Regions from separate parts of the Homo sapiens genome. Here region 2 is linked to region 1. Evidence: promoter capture Hi-C in human tissues and cell types (Jung and others, 2019). All regions are on one chromosome and are shown on one strand. Each heading gives the region's core, a stretch centred on a gene start or on the middle of the fragment in contact. The rest is flanking DNA. Distances are from core to core; before and after follow the strand shown.

Region 1 (4,154 bases), core at 853-3,352:
TTGCTAATTACCTCTTTCTTTTCAGCTTTTTTTTTTTTTTTTTTTGAGTCGGAATCTCACTCTGTCACCAGGCTGGAGTGCAGTGGCACAATCTCTGCTCACTGCAACCTCTGCCTCCCGAGTTCAAGTGATTCTCCTGCCTCAGCCTCCCGAGTAGCTGGGATTACAGGTGCCTGCCACCACACCCAGCTAATTTTTGTATTTTTAGTAGAGACGGGGTTTTGCCAAGTTAACCAGGCTGGTCTCCAACTCCAGACCTCAGGTGATCCGCCCGCCTCGGCCTCCCAGAGTGTTGGGATTACAGGCGTGAACCACTGAGCCTGGCCTTTAAAATATTATCATTATTATTTGAGATGGAGTCTCGCTCTGTTGCTCAGGCTGGAGTGCAGTGGCACGATCTCAGCTCACTGCAGCCTCCACCTGCCAGGTTCAAGGGATTCTTCCGCCTCAGCCTCCCAAGTAGCTGGGACTACAGGTGCCCACCACCATGTCTGGCTAATTTTTTTGTGTGTTTTTAGTAGAGACTGTTTTCACCATGTTAGCCAGGCTGGTCTCGAACTCCTGACCTCAGGGGATCCACCCACCTCGGCCTTCCAAAGTGTTAGGATTACAGGTGTGAGCCACTGCTCCTTGCCTAATTACCTGTCTTTTTTGTTATTGCCATCCTAATAGGTATGATGTGGCATCTCATTGTAGTTTTGATTTGCATTTCTCTGGGGACTAATGATGTTGAGGATCTTTTCATGTAATCATTGGCTATTTATATAACTTCTTTGAACTGTCTATTCAGGTCGTTTGCCCATTTTTTCTTCTTTTTCTTTTTTATTCTTGACACAGGGTCTCCTCTGTTGCTCAGGAGTTCAGTGGCACAATCTCAGCTCACTGCAGCCTCTGCCTCCAGGTTTCAAGCAATTCTCCTGTCTCAGCCTCCCAAGTAGCTGGAATTACAGGCTCCCACCACCACGCACAGCTAATTTTGTGTTTTTAGTAGAGATGGGGTTTTGTCATGTTGGCCAGGCTGGTCTCGAACTCCTGACCTCAAGTGACCTGCCCGCCTTGACCTCCCAAAGTGCTAGGATTATAGGTGTGAGCCACCATGCCTGTCTCGCATTTTTAAAAAGCTCCCCAGGTTGTTCCGATTTGCTGCTGGGTTGATACTCACATTCCAGTGCTCAGATCTGTCCAGAAGAGTGGCTGCAGCACAGTTGTCTGTCCATAACTACCTCTATGGCCTCTCGTTTCCACCTCGTTTCTCAGGGTCTCAGTCCAGGGAAGGCCTTGCCACTTTGTGGCTGGAGACTGTGTCTTGCTTTCTGCTCTGAGTTCATCAGTAACTTGGGAAAGGGCTGTTTCAGAGCAGGCCTGGGCCACCTCAGTGCTGAGGAAGGGCTTTGTCTTGCAGGCTGGCTGGGGGTTGGTTGCCTGGGAGTGTTTTCCCCGAATTTGCAAGGGGCTTGCGCCCGGGTTCGAGTTTACGTGTGTCCATGACCAAGTCTTGGAGGGAAGGTCCTAGTGTAGAGTCTGTGGGTGGGTTCACTGTGTCTGTCCCCGTCCCTCAGATTTCTTTGTGTCTGGTATGTATGCCTCTTGGGGCCTCTATTTATCTGTCAGGGTCTCCGATGGGAGGGTCTCCGAACCTGAGGTCTAATTGAGCCTTAGAATATCACTCCTGCTACCAATCCAAAAATTCCGTCTGGGACAAGTCTCCCAGGAATGGCATGGGTGGGAGGGAGGCTCTTGTCTAGGACTCAGGCGCTAGCTTTGAGCGGTGTCTGTTTGGGGGCCTCAGTCCGTGTCTGTAAGTCTCCCTAGGGAGCGGCTCTGGGGCTTGGTCTGGAGAAGCCACTTCTCTCTGGCTCTGGCCTCCTGGGGCTCCCTGCAGCTGAGGCCAAGGCTGGGGTGTGGCCGCCTCCGCGGCAGGCCGGCGGGCTGGGCTCGGGTGGGCCGGGGCGCTCCCTCCTTTCCACGCCCCCACCTCGGGTTCCCCCGTTCATCGCCCCCCCATCCCCATCTCAGCGGGTCCCGGCTTCCTTACATGGTCACGGCCGGGCTTCCAGCTCCCGGACGTCCCCCGCCCCCCGCCCCCACCGGACACGGCCCCCGCCCTGTTCGCCCCGCGCCACCGGCCCGCGCCCCGCCATGGAGGACCTGGGTGAGTGGGGCCGGATCCCCGGGTCCGTGGCCCCTCACCGCTGCCCAGAGCTGCCTCCCCGCCGTCGCTCTCCCGCATCTCCCCATCCCTGTCTTCTTACTTCTGCTTTTCGCCTCTGCCCGCGCCTCCTTTCCAACTCCACGTCCCCCTTCCTGCCTCTCCCTTCCTGCCTTTCCTGGGCCGGCCGCTCCCTCCCTTCTTCCCTCGCTGTGCTCCTCCATCCCAGGCTGCGGCAGATGGAACGGGAGGTGCGGCGCCCGCGGGCGCCCGGGCGCGGGGCTCTGGGGAGGGAGGGGTTAAAGGGGCCTCGGCCCGGGGACCGGGAAAGTAGAGGGCACGGGAAAGTCTGGCATCAAGTTTTGGAGAAAAAAAGCGGGCCTGCCTGCACCAGAGTTTTGGGAGAGGAGGAGTTAAGGGCTCCTGAGCACAGTGAGGGTCAGGTCCTTGAGGCAAGGAAGAGAATAGTAACTCAGGAGTGCCTAGGCGCCCGCGAAGGCTTCAGGGTTTCACGCGGGTGCTCAGAGACGAAGACTGAGGGCAGGACTTCTGGGTTCTGGAAGTGAAAGGGCTCAAAAGACCCGGATCTGGGGATGCAGGGATGGAGAGAGGTGTCTTGTCCGGAAGGGGGACCCAGGTATCTCGTCCTCCCTGCGAAGCCTGGGGCTGGAAGGCTGTGCGCTCCACGGGAGAGAGGGGCTTCCGGCCCCTGGCGGTAGAGGGCGCTGCTCGGTAGGGGTAACTGACGCTGTACCGCAGATAAACAGCCAATCAGAAGGCAGGTCCCAGCGAAGCGCCAGTGAGGAGCCCAGGGCGGGACTCAGGGGCCTGGGAGTGGCCAGGCTGGGCGGGGCCTGTGTAGGTAGAGGGAGGAGTTAACCAGCATGGAAGAGAGAGCGTCCAATCAGAAAGCTGAGGGCCAGGCACTGGGCCAATGGAGCAATTTGGAGGGGAGCCAAATTTGGCTTGGGTGAAGAGCCCATTTTGACTGCATCAGAGAAGATGGGGAGAATAAAATAATCAGGAGGCTGGGTTTGTGCTTGGCTCCAAGCGTGAGCAACTGGGATATTCTGGTCATAAATATTCCTTGCTACCCTTCGAGCAGTGCTCTGCCTGGCTCTGGCCCTGTGACCTCTTCTCTTAATACTGGCTTCTGTCCTTCTCCAGTACTGCCCACTGGGAACCTTATCTTCTGATCTAACCGTGACCCTTGTCTCTCTCCCTGATGGCCTCTTCCTGCAGATGCCCTGCTCTCTGACCTGGAGACTACCACCTCGCACATGCCAAGGTCAGGGGCTCCCAAAGAGCGCCCTGCGGAGCCTCTCACCCCTCCCCCATCCTATGGCCACCAGCCACAGGTGAGATCGGATGTTGGGGACTGGGGCAGCCACTAGGGCCAGGCTCGGCCTGGTCTATGGGGATCTCAGCCTCAGTGGGGCAGAGTGCAGGCCTGTCATCCCACCTGTGCGTCTCCGCTCTGTAGACAGGGTCTGGGGAGTCTTCAGGAGCCTCGGGGGACAAGGACCACCTGTACAGGTGAGGGGCCTGGAAACCAGGGCATGGGGGCCAACTGAGTCTCAGGTGAGGAGGCTTGGATTCCCCACCCCTGAACCCAGGCTCCCACTCTGCTTCCCAGCACGGTATGCAAGCCTCGGTCCCCAAAGCCTGCAGCCCCGGCGGCCCCTCCATTCTCCTCTTCCAGCGGTGTCTTGGGTACCGGGCTCTGTGAGCTAGATCGGTTGCTTCAGGAACTTAATGCCACTCAGTTCAACATCACAGGTACCAGGGTGACTGAGAGAGGCCTTGATGCGATAGGGGCAGGGGAGGGAAGGGTGGGGCAGAGACTAAGAGGAATACACTTCCCAGAGTAGCAGTTAAAGGGACCTAAAGCCTCAAGTGTGAGGGTGCGTTGAGCATGGCCCTATATGTAGCGTCCTCCTCTCCTCTCTCCAGATGAAATCATGTCTCAGTTCCCATCTAGCAAGGTGGCTTCAGGAGAGCAGAA
Region 2 (4,154 bases), core at 1,208-3,707, 260 kb before region 1:
GAGAGTCCAAAGGGGAGATTAAGAGAGTGAAACAGAAACAAAAATTCATTCTGAGAGAGACAGCAGTTGAGAGAGGAAAGAGTAAAACCAGGAAAAGGTTTGAGGGAAGCTAAGAGAAAGATGGAGAGGCCAAATGAGAGGGACTGAGTTTGCGTGTTTATTCATTCACCTAGTATCTGTAGAGCGCCTAATGTGTGTCACACACTTTAGTCTAAGCTGGAGACAAGCAGTAAACACAATTTCTATTCCGTAGGAAGAGACAGACAAGAAACCAGCAAACAAGTAGAATACATTGCATGTCAGATGCTGATAAATGTTATGGAGAAAAGGAAAGCCAGGCAGTGAGATGTTGGGGAGTTAGGAGATTTAAAATCAGGGAATTGGGAGAGGTCTTGCTGGAAAGGTAATATTGAGCAAAGTCTGAGGGAGGAAAAAGAGGATGCCATGCAGTACCTGGGTTGGAGAGTGTTCCAGGCAGAGGGGACCGTAAGTGCAAAGTCCCTGATGCCGAGTGATCAATGGGGAAAGGGGTGATAAAAGAGTCAGAGTGATTAATGGGGTCATAGCAGATAGGGCTTTGTAAGCCACAGTTAGCACTTTGGTTTTTATTCTAGATGAAATTTCTTTCTTTTCTTTTTTTTAATATTTATTGTTTTTTTTGAGACGGAGTTTTGCTCTTGTTGCCCATGCTGGAGTGCAATGGCATGATCTTGGCTCACTGCAACCTCTGCTTCCCAGGTTCAAGCAATCCTCCCATCTCAGCCTCCCGAGCAGCTGGGACTACAGGTGTTCTTCACCATGCCCAGCTATTTTTTTTGAGTTGGAGTTTCGCTCTTGTCACCCAGGCTGGAGTCCAGTGGTGCGATCTCGGTTCACTGCAACCTCTGCCTCCCGGGTTCAAGCGATTCTCCTGCCTCAGCCTCCCAAGTAGCTGGGATTACAGGTACCTGCCACCACACCCGGCTGAGTTTTGTATGTTTCATAGAGACGAAGTTTAACCATGTTGGCCAGGCTGGTCTCAAACTCCTGACCTCAAGTGATCCACCCGCCTGGGCCCCCCAAAGTGCTGGGATTACAGGTGTGAGCCATTGTGCCTGGCCCTTGCCAACTTTTTAATGGGGTTGTTTTCTGCTTGTTGAAATGTTTAGTTTCTTTATATATTCTGGATAGTAGATCTTTGTTGGATGCATAGTTTGTGAATATTTTCTTCCATTCTTTTTTTTTGAGACGGAGTCTCACTCTGTACCCCAGGCTGGAGTGCAGTGGCGCGATCTCGGCTCACTGCAAGCTCCGTCTCCCGGGTTCACACCATTCTCCTGCCTCAGCCTCCTGAGTAGCTGGGATTACAGGTGCCCGCCACTGCGCCCGGCTAATTTTTTGTATTTTTAGTAGAGACGGGGTTTCACTGTGGTCTCGATCTCCTGACCTCATGATCCACCCGCCTTGGCCTCCCAAGAGTGCTGGGATTACAGGCGTGAGCCACCGCGCCTGGCCTTTCTTCCATTCTTCAGTTGTCTGTCTGTTGATAGTTGCTTTTGCTTTTGCTGTGCAGAAGCTCTTTAGTTTAATGAGGTCCCACTTAACAATTTTTGTTTTTGTTGCTTTTGAGGACTTAGTCAAGAATTCTTTACCAAGGCTGATATCCAGAATAGTATTTCTCCTGCGGTTTCTTCTATGATTTTTATGGTTTGAAGTCTTACATTTAAATCTTTAACCCATCTTGAGTTAATTTTTTTTATATGGTGAAAGGTAGGGGTCCAGTTTCATTCTCTTGCATAAGGCTAGCCAGTTATCCCAGCGCCACTTAAATGAAATTTCAGCTGAGATTTGAAAGATACACATACAGGAACCAGGGCAGAATTGAGTTCTGGGCTGCAGGCTCTGGATTCAGTTCATTCATTTGTTCAATGTCTCTCTATCATTCATTCTCCAAGCATTTAGAGAGGCCTACTTTGTCCCAGGCTTGTCCTGGGTGTACTAGAGAGACCAAAGTGGAAAAGACCCTCCCCTCAGCTCTGGAGGAAGAAAACATTTCAGGGTGGGGTGAGGTCCTGCCCTCCTGCAGGTGGGGTAATCCTGCCAGGGTGACCTTGGTCAGCCATAAACTTGGGGAATGAGTGGGTGACAGGCTGGGGAGGGGCTGCCAGCAAGGAGGAAGGAGCTGGAGAGTGTGGAGGTGGGAGTGGGGGGAGAAAGGGCAGACCCCCTTCAATTTTCTGTCTTTTCTGTGGTGTGAAAGGCCCTGGCTCCCCGCTGGCTCTGAGCTCTGACTCCAGGCAGGCCGGGGAGAGAACAGTGGATGGGCCAAGACAGGTGGCCCTGTCATGTGATGTGTGCCCAGGGACTACTCAGCCCTCACTTTTAGAACGGTTTCCGGAAGTGATGGGAGGGATTGGGCAGGGCAGCTAAATATAGTCCTGGGGCCATGGCTCAGTCTGGGAGGGTCTTCCGCTGAGCACTGTGTGCCCATCACGCGTGGTGTCCACTGCCAGCTGCCCCTGTGAGTCCCTGTCCTTGCTTGGAGCCTGCTGCTTGTCTCAGATCCTTGGACCCAGCCCTGACCCCAGTCCAGCTAAGCTCAACCCTGACCGGTCCTCCTTCGAGACTCTTTCAGCCTAAGATCTCCAACCAGACCTGTGAGTCCCGTGGGCTGGAGAGAGGGGGAGGGGAGGTCTGGGTATCTTGGTAAAGTGAGGGAGGGGAGTCTCGGAGTGGGGGCTCTGGAGAATTTGGGTCCGGGACTAAGGTCAGAGGCTGAGGCCTGGGGCTAAGGCGAGGGCAAGGACAGTGGGCTAGAATCTGGGCTTGTGTTCAGGAACTGGGGTTGACTGATAGGGCATATTTTTGGGGTTGGAGCTGAGAATTGCAGTGGAGGCTGCTTTTGGGCCTGAGACCGAGTTCCTCTTTCCCCTTGGCCGTCAGAGTCCCATCCAGTGTAGGATGTGAGGTCTTTACAGGCTGGGGCTTCTCCCTGCGGGGCGGCGGGCCCGGCCTGGGCTAGGGCTGGGCCAGGGCTGGGCCGGGAGCGCGGCGCCGCGGGGTCCCCCTAACCTACTCCTCCTCCACCCAGGCCCGCCATGTCGGCTGCGCCCGGCCTCCTGCACCAGGAGCTGTCCTGCCCGCTGTGCCTGCAGCTGTTCGACGCGCCCGTGACAGCCGAGTGCGGCCACAGTTTCTGCCGCGCCTGCCTAGGCCGCGTGGCCGGGGAGCCGGCGGCGGATGGCACCGTTCTCTGCCCCTGCTGCCAGGCCCCCACGCGGCCGCAGGCACTCAGCACCAACCTGCAGCTGGCGCGCCTGGTGGAGGGGCTGGCCCAGGTGCCGCAGGGCCACTGCGAGGAGCACCTGGACCCGCTGAGCATCTACTGCGAGCAGGACCGCGCGCTGGTGTGCGGAGTGTGCGCCTCACTCGGCTCGCACCGCGGTCATCGCCTCCTGCCTGCCGCCGAGGCCCACGCACGCCTCAAGGTGCGGGATCCGCGCGCATCGTGGTCGGAGGGGCTGTTCGGTGGCACGGGGCCGATGGGGAGGTCGCTGCAGTGATTTGGATTCTGAGTCTCTAGAGAGGCTCACGAGCTCCTGGAGTTGCGGGGGGCGGGGGCGGGGCGAAGCAGCCAGGAAAGAGGGTCTGAGGAGCTTAAGGCGGGGCTGGCAGAGGAAAGCCGCGCAGGGATGGAGCCTGGCGATAAGGGCGCTGAGCAAACGTAGGTTTCCCGGCCTTAGTCCCTAGAGGAAACTGGAGATGGGCGGGCGGAGCCCCAGGGCGGGTCTGATGGGCCGGGCGGAGCCAGGCGGAGCAGGGACTGACCAGCCCCTGCGGCCCACGCTCGCATTCCTGCACCCGGTGGGCCGTTCGGGCTGGCTCCCTGCTCGGCGCTGGCCCACTTTGGACTGGAGGCGCGGCGTTCGGGACCGAGCCAGGCGGCCGGGGCAGGGTTGTCCCCTTGTGCTCAGCGGAGGCCCACGCACCCCTGAAGCTGCGGAACTTGGGCTGGCCTGACGGTCCCCAGGCGGGGCCTCACCAGAAGGGAGACTGTAAGGGCTAGGCAGCCGGGATCTGCACTTATGTGTGCGGGCCCAGGGTGGCACCGAGAGCCCCGTCCAGGATGTTTTTCTGGGTGGAGCTGGAAGTCCCGAAAGCCTTGGGAGCCCACA

The links. The method cuts DNA at HindIII sites, captures the fragments that hold promoters and counts their contacts. A contact is called where the count stands out against the background at its distance.
Region 2: the fragment with the promoter of TRIM72 here is called in contact with the fragment with the promoter of TGFB1I1 in region 1 in 1 of the 25 tissues and cell types used here (lymphoblastoid cells).

What each region holds. Positions count from the first base shown.
Region 1 is chr16:31,470,050-31,474,203 of GRCh38, forward strand. It overlaps TGFB1I1 (transforming growth factor beta 1 induced transcript 1), which reads left to right and starts at 2,103. Exons shown (of 11, transcript NM_001042454.3): 1 at 2,103-2,152; 2 at 3,392-3,507; 3 at 3,633-3,685; 4 at 3,786-3,928; 5 at 4,103-4,154. The coding sequence starts at 2,140. RefSeq lists an enhancer at 2,442-2,982. The HindIII fragment of the contact is 11,590 bases long and covers 1-4,154 here.
Region 2 is chr16:31,211,662-31,215,815 of GRCh38, forward strand. TRIM72 (tripartite motif containing 72) reads left to right here and starts at 2,458. Exons shown (of 7, transcript NM_001008274.4): 1 at 2,458-2,636; 2 at 3,071-3,467. The coding sequence starts at 3,078. RefSeq lists enhancers at 1,949-2,864, 2,865-3,779. The HindIII fragment of the contact is 10,428 bases long and covers 1-4,154 here.